Linked DNA regions of Homo sapiens: regions 1, 2, 4 and 5 are each linked to region 3. Evidence: promoter capture Hi-C in 16 types of primary human blood cells and fetal thymus (Javierre and others, 2016). All regions are on one chromosome and are shown on one strand. The core of a region is centred on a gene start or on the middle of the fragment in contact, and the rest is flanking DNA. Distances in the headings are between cores, read along the strand shown.

The links. The method cuts DNA at HindIII sites, captures the fragments that hold promoters and counts their contacts. A CHiCAGO score of 5 or more calls a contact.
Region 1: a contact is called between a fragment that was not itself captured here and the fragment with the promoter of PFDN4 in region 3, in 1 of 17 cell types (total B cells). The highest score is 7.5, in total B cells.
Region 2: a contact is called between a fragment that was not itself captured here and the fragment with the promoter of PFDN4 in region 3, in 2 of 17 cell types (naive B cells and naive CD4 T cells). The highest score is 7.2, in naive B cells.
Region 4: a contact is called between a fragment that was not itself captured here and the fragment with the promoter of PFDN4 in region 3, in 9 of 17 cell types (total B cells, naive B cells, naive CD4 T cells and 6 more). The highest score is 18.9, in total B cells.
Region 5: a fragment that was not itself captured here is called in contact with the fragment with the promoter of PFDN4 in region 3 in 4 of 17 cell types (naive B cells, total B cells, total CD8 T cells and 1 more); the score reaches 14.3 in naive B cells.

What each region holds. Positions count from the first base shown.
Region 1 is chr20:52,293,125-52,295,824 of GRCh38, forward strand. All of the region lies in intron 2 of LOC105372666 (a long non-coding RNA gene), which reads left to right. Among named protein-coding and RNA genes, the nearest start is that of ZFP64, 100 kb to the left of the region's middle. The HindIII fragment of the contact is 2,183 bases long and covers 265-2,447 here.
Region 2 is chr20:52,251,862-52,254,561 of GRCh38, forward strand. All of the region lies in intron 2 of LOC105372666 (a long non-coding RNA gene), which reads left to right. Among named protein-coding and RNA genes, the nearest start is that of ZFP64, 61 kb to the left of the region's middle. The HindIII fragment of the contact is 3,750 bases long and covers 1-2,700 here.
Region 3 is chr20:54,206,759-54,209,458 of GRCh38, forward strand. It overlaps PFDN4 (prefoldin subunit 4), which reads left to right and starts at 1,329. Exons shown (of 4, transcript NM_002623.4): 1 at 1,329-1,366. The coding sequence starts at 1,343. LOC124904937 (a long non-coding RNA gene) reads right to left here and starts at 1,283. Exons shown (of 2, transcript XR_007067669.1): 1 at 1,199-1,283; 2 at 188-298. RefSeq lists enhancers at 726-1,543, 1,084-1,403, 1,544-2,360 and a silencer at 1,394-1,663. The HindIII fragment of the contact is 8,273 bases long and covers 1-2,700 here.
Region 4 is chr20:52,234,687-52,237,386 of GRCh38, forward strand. LOC105372666 (a long non-coding RNA gene) reads left to right here. Exons shown (of 17, transcript XR_007067652.1): 2 at 83-246. Among named protein-coding and RNA genes, the nearest start is that of ZFP64, 44 kb to the left of the region's middle. The HindIII fragment of the contact is 6,502 bases long and covers 1-2,700 here.
Region 5 is chr20:52,311,450-52,314,149 of GRCh38, forward strand. The region is part of intron 3 of LOC105372666 (a long non-coding RNA gene); the gene reads left to right. Among named protein-coding and RNA genes, the nearest start is that of ZFP64, 120 kb to the left of the region's middle. The HindIII fragment of the contact is 5,272 bases long and covers 1-2,700 here.

The DNA of each region.
Region 1 (2,700 bases), core at 106-2,605, 1.9 Mb before region 3:
ACTATCCATCCACATTTATTGAATGCAGGTATGCCATTTCTCTTCTAATCCTCACAATAACCCTGTCAGATGGGAACAGTGAGTTTTGCCTTTTGCCAGTGAGAAAGGCGAGAACGCAAGGAGTGCATTTCTTGGCATACACTGGCTAGTAAACAATGGGCTTAGATTTGAACCCACATCTATCTGATGCTAGATACAGCACTCTTAACTTCTACTCAGCCTTGCATTTGCCCTGTACCATCCCAGGAGTCTCAAGAACCAGGAAGCTTTTGCAGAGCTGTTTTGCTCTATTTTGTGTGATGAAACATTACCTTTTATTCTACAAATACAAAGTTGTATTATGAAACTTTGAAATAAACTTGAAATGTTTGTTTCAAACTATACTCCGTTTTCTCTCTCCCTTAACACATGTGCATATTCACACACACACGTACACACACACATGCACAGACACATTCTCAAAAGTTCTAGTACTCTGACCTTGGTTAAAATCCAGTCCTTGGTCATACAGGTGATTAAGGCAGAGACACTGCCCTATGAGGTACTAGAGTCTAGTAACAGAAGGGGACATCTTATCAGTGAAGGTTGTTGGGTGTAAGCAACAGAAATGAACTCTGGTAATTTAGACAAAAGGATGATTTATTACAAGAGTACTGGCTTGCTCAAAGAATATCAGGAGAGCCAGAGACTCAAGCTCAGTGGCAACATACCAGTCTGGTTCCAAAAGCCATAGCCCTGCCCATGTAATTATTTTGCCTCTCTGTAGATGTATATTTATTGAATAAATGCCTTAAATGAGGACTTTGCAGGAGGAAATGCAATTCCTTGTGGAGTCTCCTATGTGTATGTAAACTACAGAATCACTATTCATCCAGCTTCTTTTTGTGGAAACTATTCCCATGGGAGAGTTTGGAAAAGAGGATATGGGGTGAGAAATAAACTTTATTTTCTCCTTCTAATCTCCTTGCATCACCCCATCCTCCCTCTCTGACCTCCCCTGCCCTATCAGGAAGCTGAACAAAACTAGGTCCTTGAGAGTTTCTTCCCCCTCAATACTTGGATAGATTCTTTGTTATTTAGGGTTCTCCCCAGAAGCAGAACTTGAGATAAAGATTTGAGTACAAGTTGTTTATTTGGGAGGTTGTACCAGGAAATACCCAGAAGAAGGTGGGGAAGTGAGCCAGGGAAGGAAAGTTGAGTCATCAAGACAGCTAACGCCATGGAAGACTGGAGCTTAATGTCTCCTGGAAAACTCTGGAAGCCAGTGGAGAAAAATGCCTCAGAGTTTTTCTTTCTGGGGAGGGAGGGAGTTGGGGTATTTATACACCAACATTGTCAGTTGTTGAGGGTAGCTCCTAGAGGACCATTAATTCTTGGTACTTCTGGACTACCGTGCCTATGGCAAACTGGTCTCCAGAGACCACAGAAATCCCTTAGGCAAAAAGATGCAGATGCTGCTGATGTTGCAGTCCAGCATCAAGCACTCAGGTGATCAGGGCATGGCCCTGACAGTGACATGCGGATGTCCCTGGGCTACCGACTTCTCTTCCTTAGCAGAGAGAGCTTTGAGTGTTTCCATCCAGCAAAAGCCTTAAGAACCTCCAAATCATCCATCTTTGAGTTTCAATGTCAAGAAAATATTGGAAGAAAATATTAATGCAAATCTATGCTTTGTCAAGAGTAGTGTTTTGTTATTTTTCTTGAACTATCCCAGATACACTATTTCAAATTAGGAAAAGGACAGATTTTTTTTTCTTGAGCAATATCAACTAAAGAGAGGAGGAGGGAAAAGAAAAATTCACTTATCATGGTTTATTTGTTTCCATGTGATGATAAAAAGATTAAGTCACACAGCTTTTATTTTTCCCCAATGTTTTTCTCTTGCCTTCTGCTATTAGTTGTGTTTCTATTTATTTTAATTAGAATTTAGCCTTTTATTGAACCTATTTTCTTTCTGTGGTATTTTTATAAGCTGTGTTCAGCAATTCACAGTTTCTAAAACACTAGAGATACTTTTTTTTTTTCGGACAAGATGATGCACATCATCTGGGCTTGGATCTGGTGGGCTAGTATTCATCTCAAAGGTTATGTTCATCGTAGCAAATGGGACTAAATTTTATTCTTTAGAATTATTCCAGTTCCAGTACCTGAACACTTAACTTTAAAATTTTTTTACTATTATATTCATTGGGTATTTGTAGTGTATTCTATATACTAGCTGGTAATATCACCAACACCAACAGTATCTAGTGTTAGATGTTGTTGTACTGTTTCCAAGTGTTAGAGTCCTAGCTCTGCCTCTTCCAGCTATGCTGTTTGGGTGCTTTGCTTTACCTCTCATCAGTTTCTTTACATGTCAGCCTATAAGTTTTTATTTTAAACAGACTTTGTATATATAGAATACTTAGTCCAAAGCCTATAACATAGTAAAACATTTGACTCAGGTAAGCTTTTATTACAAAACACTGGCATACACACACTCATTTTATTTAAATAGAAATGATACTGTTGGCTTATGTGCACCTAATCTTGAATTATCAAGTGACTAATGCATGGTTTGTGTGTGTATATATATAACACACAGAGTCAATAAACAAGTGTATATGAAATATCTGTGAGTCATGTTCTCATCTCTATGCCCGTGGTCTTAATTTTGAAATGTCAATTACATCACAGCTTAATGGGTGTACATAGCAGTGT
Region 2 (2,700 bases), core at 41-2,540, 2.0 Mb before region 3:
ATGGAACCTTCCAACAGTTCTAATAAAGCAGGTATTGGTGGTGGACATTTTTTCTGCCCAGTGTGCATCCTCCCTTGTCCAGGTAACAGACATCATTTCCCTCTGGGGAACTCTCTCTTCCTTGCAATCCATCCCTGTGGTTTGAGAAGCCCTGATGTCATCCATGGCTCCACCGTGCATGGACAATCAGAGCACCACTGAATGGGGAGAGTTTAGGGATGGGGACATGATACAATTTGGGCCTAAGTTTGGATGGCTGGGGAGAGGAGTTCTATTTCTCATTAGAAAGCAGGGAAGCCAAGAGCAGCTGGCCACGGTAGGGAGCTGGTCAGCCTGAGGGTGAAGCTGATGTGGTGAGGGCTGTGCTAAGAGATCTCAGGTAGTGGTGAGAGTTCGGAGCTCCCAAATCGGGCTGTGCTAGCAGCCAGCTCTTTCTTCAATACTTTCAAATATTTGAGTCAATTAATCTCCTTTTTCTTTTCAAAATCAGTTTGAATTGGATTTTCCGTCAATTACAATCAAATTAGTATTGCGATTCATTAGCAGTACTACTGTTAAATAGTAGTAGTAGTAGTTGAGGTAGTAGTAGTTGTAGTATTTCCCTGTTTTACAGACTTGAGATTTGATCTCCAGGGGTATGTAATTTGCCCAGGATCACCCAGCTTTGAACTCAGGCCGGCATCATTCCAGGGCTCGTCTGTATGACTACTGAGAAATCACATTCCCACTTCTGTTCCATGCTGGCTGTTTCCAAAGACAGGGAGTCAAACTCTACCATCTTGTTAGTGAATGTGAATCTGTACTTCTCCTGGATCCCGTGCTGTAAACACTTGTTGGACTTAGGCAGGAAGAAAAGAAACATTTTCTTGAACAGATTAACTTTTGGACTCCGTACTTATAATTAGCTAGTTTTGAGTTAGTTACAGTAACCTCTGTTGGTTATTTATTTGATCACACATGACTCTGATGCAAAACAGCTTTGCTTTGGTCTCCTAGTGACCTGCGTGAACTGCATCATTAGGCAGCTGGTAGAGGTCTGACTAATTACAGCAAAATAAAAAGGAAAGTCTAAACACTCCTCCTCTTCCCCAAACATTCTTTGCGAAACATGCCTTGCTGGGCCCTGGACTACTTCATGAAAACGTGTCACTAACAAAATATGGAAGAGGCAGAAGAGCCTAATGGAAACAGTTTTATTGAGTGCCTCTGTGACAAAAATATCTTCAAAGGGAGTTCTATCAATTTTATTAAGCTACATTGTGCACTTTTACATGACAAGCATATCAAGCACAATAGCATTTGAATTAGCAATCAAGTTTTAATCGTATTTGACACTTCCCCACCTTGTACTGGCAGAAGCTGTCTCTCTGAGGAGCGACGCCATGCAAGGAGTCGTCAGCCTCCAACGGAGAAATGGGTGGCGTCCAAAAGTTCATTTGTGAATTTGCTAGTTGATTCTCAGAATACATGTTTTTCCCCCACACTTAGAATGGTATTTAGAATCCTGTGCTCACACATAAAAGCCAGTTTAACCAATTTTTATTAATTAAGGGGCTTTGGTTGCAAATGGCAGAAATTAACTCTGGTTAAGTTAAGCCAAAGAGAAAGTCCTGGAAGGATATTGGGAATTTTGAATCAGGAGAAGGCTGAGGGGTCAAACTTTCTGAGAGGCAGCCCCAGAGTCCTGCAAAGCAACAGCACAGGAATGGCCACATCTTGATTTCTGTTGTCACTGTGACTACCAGAAACCCACTCCTCCCTGTGGTTCTCTGCCTCGGCCCTTCCTGAGGCCCACTGTTGGTCTCATCGTGGCCCTGATGAGGACATTTTTGAGGCTTCATGATCTCTGTAGGATGCTGTCCATGCCCATGCACACAACAAGTGCATCTGTGAGGCCCACCTCACATCTCAGCTCCTGCTGTGCTGCGATGCAGATCCCCAGGGAGCTCGGTTCCACACAGTCACTCAGGGATCCAGCAGCCCCTTCCTCCTGTGGCTCTGCCCTCCTCTGTGTTGGTGTCCTTTCCATTCAGTACACAGATGGGGAGGAAAGTGATGAGGCTGCTACGGGCACCCAGCAGCCTGCATGCACCAGTATGCACCCAGTTCCTCAGGACAATGTGTTGGAATCATCATTGAATCTTCTGTTTCCCTCACACTCCTCATCCATTCCTTCCGTAAATTTGGTCAGCTCCACCTTCTAAATATACCCAGAATCTGGATATAACCCCCACAATTATAACCCTGGTTCTAGGCAGCATCATTTCTTGGCTAAAACATCACAATTGCCTCCTCACTGGTTTTCCTTCCTCCTCCTTCCCCTGGACAGTCTCCACTCCACTCAGCAGCCAGAGGGATTGTGTCAAAGCCTGTGCCAGATGATGCTGCTTCCTTCAAGGGTTTATCATCCTTGAGTAAATGACTTGATCTGACTTGATCTGGCTCCTGTCACGTCTCCATCTTTCTCATCAACTGTCTTTCCCTGCCATCCTTCTGCCCCAGCCACAGTGACTTCCTCCTTGATGGTCCTCAAGTATGCTCAGCATGCTATTGCTGCCTCAGGGCCTTTGCACTTGCTCTTCCGTCTCTCTAGAACATTCTTGCCAGAGCTTCTTTGCTCAAATATAGTTTCCTTAGAGAGGCTTCTCTGACCAGCCTCTGAGACAGAAGCCCCACTTCCTCGTTCCTGTTGAAATCTGT
Region 3 (2,700 bases), core at 79-2,578:
ACTGAATGCAGAAGTAGACATGAGAATGTAACCTTCCATTAAGCCTGATATTAAAGAGATCAGTGAAAATGTAAAATGATGACAATCTTCTCAATTTATTTTTGTCTTAGAAAATATAGTTATTTTTAAAGTGTGATTTTTATTACCATGGAATGGAGTTTTATATTATTTTAAATGAATTAATAAATACATTTTAAAAATTCTGCTTTAATTTCTAATACAGCAAATATCGATAAATAACCCACATAAACAAAAGTTCTTTGGAGTCCTCAGTAATTTCCAGGAGTATAAAGAGGTCCTAAGGCAAAAAAAAAAAAAAAAATTACTAATTGGGAGACACAAGTGTCAGAATATACAGTAATTGTTCAGTAATATTGCTGTAAATTAATTAATAGGATTGCCTAGTCACAACAGCAAAGGCATGGAATCAACCCAGATGCCCATCAGTGGTGGATAGGATAAAGAAAATGTGGTCCATATACACCATGGAATACTATGCAGCCATAAAAAAGAACAAAATCATGTCCTTTGCAGCAACATGGATGCAGCTGGACATCATTATCCTAAGTGAATTAACACAGAAACAGAAAACCAACCACTCATGTTCCCACTTATGAGTGACAGCTAAACACTGGGTACTCGTGGACATAAAGGTGGGAACAATAAATGCTACGGATTCCAAAAACGGGGAAGGAGGCAGGGGAAAGGGGTTGAAAAATTACCTGTGGGGTACTATGTTCACTACTTGGGCAACGGGATCATTAGAAACCCAAACCTTAGCACCATGCAGTATATCCATGTAATAAACCGGCACACATACCCCCCGAATTTAAATTAAAAAAAAATTACATTAAAAGATAGGAGTACCTCCTTTACACCACCTGAATTATCATGGCACATAAATCTCACACCCTATTTGCCAAGGCCATTCGTTCCTAGCTGTTTTACAGGTAGGTTAGCTTTCTCAATGCAAGTCTGTGGGACGGATGGAGAAAAATTCCCCGAGCCCTTTGATCCTGCCCCAGCTGGGCCCCGCCGCGCTGAGCCTTGGGCGCGCCCCCTGCTGCCCGCGGCCGGAGCCGTTCGCCACACCCCCGTGTTTATGTCGGTCCACGGGGGTTGCCTGTCCCTTTAATTGGCATGTACCAAGTCCTTCCAGGTCACATTTCCTCCCTACGTCCCAGCCGTTTGGACTCACTGGCCAAAAGTCCAAGAGGACGGAATGTGGAGACAGTGTTGTATTTTTGCGGGGAGTTCTAGGCCGACCGGGAGCGAGAGAACGCTCGGGGGCGAAGCGCGCCATTGCGGCCCTCCCCGCCGCCTGCGGTAGTCCAGTCCCAAGATGGCGGCCACCATGAAGAAGGCGGTGAGTGGGGAGCTCGGGGCTCTGGATGCTCGGGCGGCGCCGGATCTCGGCCGCTGGGGCCCGGGCGCGGGATGCTGGGGGTGCGCAGCTCCGAAGCCCGGCGTGGGACCCGAGGCCGAGGCCGAGGCCCTGAGAGCGGTCCCGCGGCAAGGCCTGCTCGCGCCTGGCGCCCTGAGCGTTTTCCTAGGCACCTGGCCAGCCGAGGCGGGGCGCCGGGGCTGGGGCCGGGAGCCTCGAAGGACGCAGGTCCGCCTCCCGCGATGCCGAGGGTGCCCCCGGGGAGTCTGAGGAACCTGCAGCCCCGGCCTCGCCCCTGAGGTGTGGGAAGCCGAAGGTCCCGTTGAGTGTGGTTGGCCTTGACTCGGGCGTTGCACCGGCATGATCGCATTAGCCTCACTGGTTATGGGTAGCTGCTGCTGGGAGCGTGGTTACGGGTGAGGAAACTGAGGCCCAGAGATGGGGAGTCACCTGCCCGAGGTTACGCAGCTCATAACGGGGACAGCAGGTTCCTGCATCCCCAGATTAGCAGGCCCCAGAGACCCTGTGTCCAACCTGGAGCTGCCCATTTCCACGCTTGATGCCCCTGAGTCCTTCAGGCTAAAACCAGTATTTATTGAGAATGGAAGATGTGCCGGGCCCAGCAGCCGGCCGTTTATCTGTTATCCTCCCCGCAACTCAGCAAGTGCAATGGGTTCCTCTCCACTTTGCAGGTAGAGAAACTTAGACACAGAGCAGTTAGAGGCCCTAAAGTGACTCAGCTAGTAAGAAGCAGAGCTGGAGTTCAAACTCAGGTTTGTTTTTGTTTTTCTCAAAGCACGCCTGTGTAACCACTAAGCCGGCTAAACTTCCATGTGGGGTTTTTAATCCCGTGAGCCTTCCCAGATGTGTAAAGATAGTCAGATAGAAGAAAAAGAAAATTGGAGAGGGGGAAGGAGATAACGGCTGATAATTTGGGGAGCTTTACAGTGTGCTAGGTACAGCTGTAAGTTGTTTTGCGTGTATTGTTTATTTTATGTTCTTTGAGGGAGATACTGTTTTTATCCTTATTTAACAATGAGAAAACAGGCGCGGAGGCAAAGCTAGCATTTAAACACAGGCATTCTGACTCCGGAGTCTGTGTTTTAAACTGCTATAGGGGGTCTTTGATGAGAATCTCTTGGCTGGAGGGATTTGCGTTCATTCCACTTTTAAGACCACATTAGAACTTCTTTGCTTTGCCCCTATCCAGTACCACATAGTCTATGCCATCTGTGCCTGGTGTAGGGTGACCCATTGCCCCCTTTTATATGAAATTGAGGGACTGCCAAAAATGGGAAAGCCCCAGCCAACTCAGG
Region 4 (2,700 bases), core at 195-2,694, 2.0 Mb before region 3:
TTGTTAAATTTACTGTTTGGAACTTTAGAGTGTAAACGTAGAAAGCCTATCTTCTGAGTATATCTTCTTTTGGAATCTTTAGGTGGTAGCTGCAAGAACTCTTAGTATGTTGACCTCACCTCTGCCTTCCACATACCACTACCAGTGAGGAATTAGGAATGCATGAGAAGAGTGTCCAAGAAGAGTGTCCTCATTCATGCAAGGCTTAAGAGAGAATGCAGGTCAACATCACCATGTCAATCAGAGGTAGGTGAGCTCACCAATTGGAAAGGCCCATTGGTGTGGGGATGAATGGTCTTGAAAAAGCCCTTCAGGAGATAGGTGTGGGCACCCAAGAGGATTGCCTAATGTGTGGTATGAAGCTAGTAGAGGTTGTCGGGTGACTGCATTAGGAGACACAATGTATAGAATGTCAGTTGCCACCCCCACTATCCTAAGATGCTGTAGACCAGAGGTAGCATGGTGAGGGGCACATGGGTGGGTGAGAGCCTGGCATGGGCCCACAGTGTTTAGTTTAATAGTAGTCCAGAAATCTGATGTTGTCTTGTGCCGCGCTTGAGTGAGAATCATCAAAATTGGTGTGTTAGCCCCATTCTACTTGTCAATCTTGTGCAATCACATGAAAGAAATGCTGTGCCAGCTGGCAGGGAGCTATCTGCTGGTCTCCTGGAATTGGGATCTCCCCAGATGACCCGTGCGTGAGATTCAGGGCTCCTCTGGGCAGCTAGTGGACACATGTGGGATAGTGGGCTGGAGAGCAACCTGGAGGGGAAACCCTGGGGGCAAGGGGGGGTCCATGAGGTAGGCCTTGAGCATCCCACCTGTCACTACTGCAGACCCTGCCCTCCCTGGGAGGGGACTTAGGCCACTTACACCTGGGGCCTAGAGCAGGACTCCCACTTCCCGCATCCAAGGAGGGTACTGGTACTTTCTATGTGCCTTGCAGTGTTCTGAATCCTTCATGTAACTTAGCTCATTTAATCCTCATGGTGCCCCGGGAGGTATGAACTGCTATTATCATCATCCTCGCTATTTCACAGGTGTGAAAACTGAGACTTGAGAGAGGCTAAGTGTGTGCTAAGGAAACTCAGCTAGTAAGTAGCTGACTGGTATTTCAACCCGGGCAGCTCAATTGCAGATTGTCACCTTAATCCCTTGCTATGCTGTTTCTCACTGTTTGAACTCTGCTAAAGACAATATAAGGCACACTGCATAAAGTTGCTTTTTATGAACATATTACCACTACTTTATGTTTGCATGACCTTTAATAGTGTAGTCAACATTTGTCTCCCCCACTGCATGCTGCATTCCAATCCCACTACCCCAATTCTAACAGTATCCTGATTTCTTGTTCAGAAATTATCTTTTTCTCATGGGCATGGTCAAAGTGTTCTGTCTTTCCACTATAAGGCCAAAGGAGTCCCTTCCAGAACCTTCTTCTTAATATTACAGTGCATTTCAAAGTGAGCAAGTGAGAGTCTGATTGAGCAAGTCAGCTTTCACCCAGGACTTCCAATCATGAGCCTAGTGACTCAGAGATGGAAAAATGGCCCAAGAGCAGTGGACCCTGATATGTTGTGCATGTTTGTCCCCTCCAAATTTCATGTTGAAATATGATTCCCATTGTTGGAGGTGGGGCCTGGTGGGAGGTATTGGATCGTGAGGGTGGATTTCTCATGAGTGGTTTAGCGCCATCCTGCTGGTGATCACGGAGTCCTTGCTCAGTTAGCTCATGTGAGATCTGGTTGTTTAAAACTCTGGGACTTCCGCCATCTCTGTCTCTGTCTCTTGCTCTTGCCACATGATATGCCTGCTCCCACTTTGCCTTCTGCCATGATTTTACAGTGCCTGACACCCTCACCAGAAGCAGATGCCAGAGCCATGCCGGCACAACCTGCAGAACCATGAGCCAATTCAACCTCTTTTCTTTATAAATTAACCAGCCTCAGGTGTTTCTTTATAACCATGCAAAAAATAACCGGACACAGACCCTGACGAACATTCTCTGTCAGTTCCTTGATTCCTGATCCTTGTTCCTACTTGACTTTACAGCCTTCCCATAAATTGTGGAAGTCTCCAAATACCCTTCTAGTGAATCCCTTTTTTTCCTTTTGCTGGCTAAACCAATTTCTGTTGCTTGCCATCAAAGAACTGTAACTGATACAGCATATGGTCTCATATGCGATTCTCACTAGCCAGATTGGAGTGGGAAGGCGGTATCACCATCCCTGTTTTATAGATAGAAAACTGTTCAGAGAGGCTGAAGAAGTTGCTCAAAAGTACACAGTGAGTAAGGGACAGAGTCAGGATTTGTTCCCACAGTATTGACCTCTGCTTCAGAGGGCAAAGATAATCTTGATTTTCTTTCATTTCTTTATTTTCTTTCATTACTTTTCCATTTCCATTAGTGGCAGAGCATGGCTTAAATACCATTGCATCTTAGCCAATGGCGGAAGCTCTCTGAGCTTTATTCCCTCATTAATGAATGGGGATAATGATAGTAACTACCTAAAAAAAAAAACCTGTTGTGAGAATCATGTAAGAGAATGACCTTGGAACATCCTTGGCACAGTGCTTGGCATGCAATATGTACTCGATACATGTAATTCCCATGTCAGGAGTGACAAGATAGAATTCAAGATTCCTGGACATTGTTTAGGCGTTATAATACACTTAAAGTTCCAGCTGGGCACAGTGGCT
Region 5 (2,700 bases), core at 22-2,521, 1.9 Mb before region 3:
TCTCATGTGTCATAGGGAAGCATTGGCTTGCACGTGTTACTTCCCAAAAAGGTGTTTCATCCATAGAAATGCTGATTCTCTGGCTTCCCAATGCTATATTTAGAAATGACATTTACATTTCCACAGATCAACAGCTCCTGTTTGGATACAGTTCCAGGAGCTTTGCTGTGACAGTGAATGTGCTGGCTTTTATTCTCCCCTGTTTCCCTTTCTTAGCTGTGGGCAATTAGCAAAGTTAGGAGGCATTTGTCATTTGGTAGATGAAAATAATTAAATATGATAAATTCATATATTTTGAAAGAGGTCAAAATGAACCAGTATCTGTATCTTGACTTTCAAAAAGGCTTGGGGGAAAATTTATTCTATTTTCTGTCTCATTCATTTAAAGAATATCTGTATAGATTTTAGCTAAAGCATCCCTTAAACCCCCAAATCCTCCCACCCTCCCATGTTATTTTATTTATTTATTTTTGTTAATTTTGAATCTGAAAGTTTCTGATACCTTAGTAGCTTATTTATTGATAGTTCATATCCATAGAGAAATGTCTTTTATTCTGCAGTAAACCATTATTTCATTGAGGGTTTATACCTGTGGTATGTGTGTGCATATTATTTTGTGCCTGATGGAGTTCAAATATTCTAAGTATTACTCTGACATATTTCCATCTTAGCAAAATTATTCTCACAGCTATTGATAACAAAGGAAAGGACCAAATATCTTATTTCCTTGTCAAGAGGGTGGAAAAAATGGAAATAGTAAAAATAACCATTGGCTGCCATCAATCTACAGGATTATGGTCTACCTTTGGTAATAACATTCTACTTAGAGCCTCCTGAAACCTGATCAAGGGACCCCATAAAATTGTGAGCACATGTCACCATTAGAGGGCAGTGTGCACTCTCTCCAAGAGCCCATAAAAATTATGTTTCCTGCCATAGCTAAAAGGATTTGTCTGGCAAAGGGCAAACCCATTAGGCATAAACATTCAGCATTTTTTGCTGTTGCCTGTCATAATGAAAACAATGATTTGAAAGTTCTGATTAAACCTGCAAGATTTTCTATCTAGTGTATGTCTTCAAGCATATACTTTTCAAACTTACTTCTTTTGATGTTCAGCTGTGCTAGAAACGTGAGTTAGACCTGGCACAACTTTTTCAGGACTTTGGTAGGGAAAGCTCACTTTAATCTCAGTGACGAAGCTCTCCTTGGAATATAGATGGCCATTAAGTAACAGGAAAGTCTTTATCAAAACAACAGCAACCAAAGTTAGTTAAATTTTTTTTTGTTGTTGTTGTTTTTAGATAGGATCTCATACTGTTGCCAGGCTGGAGTGTAGCAGTACAATCATAGCTCACTGCAACCTCCTGGGCTCAAGGGGGATCCTCCTGCCTCAGCCTCCTGAGTAGCTACGACTACAAACATGGGCCACCACGCCTGGCTAATTTTTACATTTTTTGTAGAGATGAGGTTTCACTACGTTGCCCAGGCTGGTCTTGAACTCCTGAGCTCAAGTGATCTTTCTGCCTTGGCCTCCCAAAGTGCTGGGAATACAGGCATGAGCCACCATGCCCCACCCCCAGAAGATTAAAAAAAAGTCACTCTAAACTCCAAAATGTGTCCAAAAGTCCTCACCCACCAAAACCTAATACAAACATGAAGAATTAGTGAATATTTTTTCAGTCCTGTTTTTTCTGAGGAGCAAGAAAAAGAAATCTTTGTTTATATCACCGTTGGTAGGCCAGTAAACAAAGGCTAGAGAAGACATTTGTATAAACTTGAGAATTTGCATTTAAAACATGATCTACAGTTACTTTGTAGAATATCAGAATTTGATTCATCAGTGGGCATAAAATCATCGCGTTGGCGGTAGACCTGGAATTGGCAAAATTATGATTGCGTCAACGTGCCAGCCCACATCGGCTTCTTGTTCAGGTGTGAGATTGTAAAGGAAGGGTCTGCTAGACTCGTCTTTCAAAAAATTCAGCAAATAAATTGTTTGCTTTACAACTGCCAGCCGCAGTTGCCTCTGGCAGCGTTGTTTTTCTGCTGACTGCGACAGATTGAGCTCTTCTGCCGGAATTTCTCTAGAGGGCAGTAAGGATTCGAGGCTCTTTCCCTATTTTTCTGAAATGACGGATCATCGTTGTGCAGCTGCAAAGGTTAGGTAGTGCAGCACACGCTCTGGTGCTGGGGAGAGTGGCCGAACTCTCCAGAAAGGAGCCTCCTTGGCTTCCTGGTACGTCCTGCAAGCCGATATTTTGTGATAACCTGCAGAAAATCATTTCCTCTCTTCCAAAAGGAAATGGAAGGATTTATTAATAGAGTACAGCTATAGATACAACATATATGTATTAATGGTTGACCAAGGATTTAAAAATTAAATGGCTCCTGGGATCCTGCGTTGGAGGCTGGGTAAAGTCAACAATGGAATATCTGGGAAAACCAAACAGAATAGTTGGGAAAGAGAAATCTGTGTAATCCTGTGGTCCTCAACCAGGAACAGTTTTGCTCCCAGGGGACCTTTAAAGACATTTTTGATTGTTACAACTGCGGGCGGGGGTGGAGGTGGTGGGGGGCCTGTAGCATCAATTGAGTAAAAACGAGGCACGCTACTAAACATCCCATAATAAAAAATACAGCCCCACAACAAAGAATTATTCGGCCTCAAATATCAATAGTGCCCAGGCTGAGAAATCCCG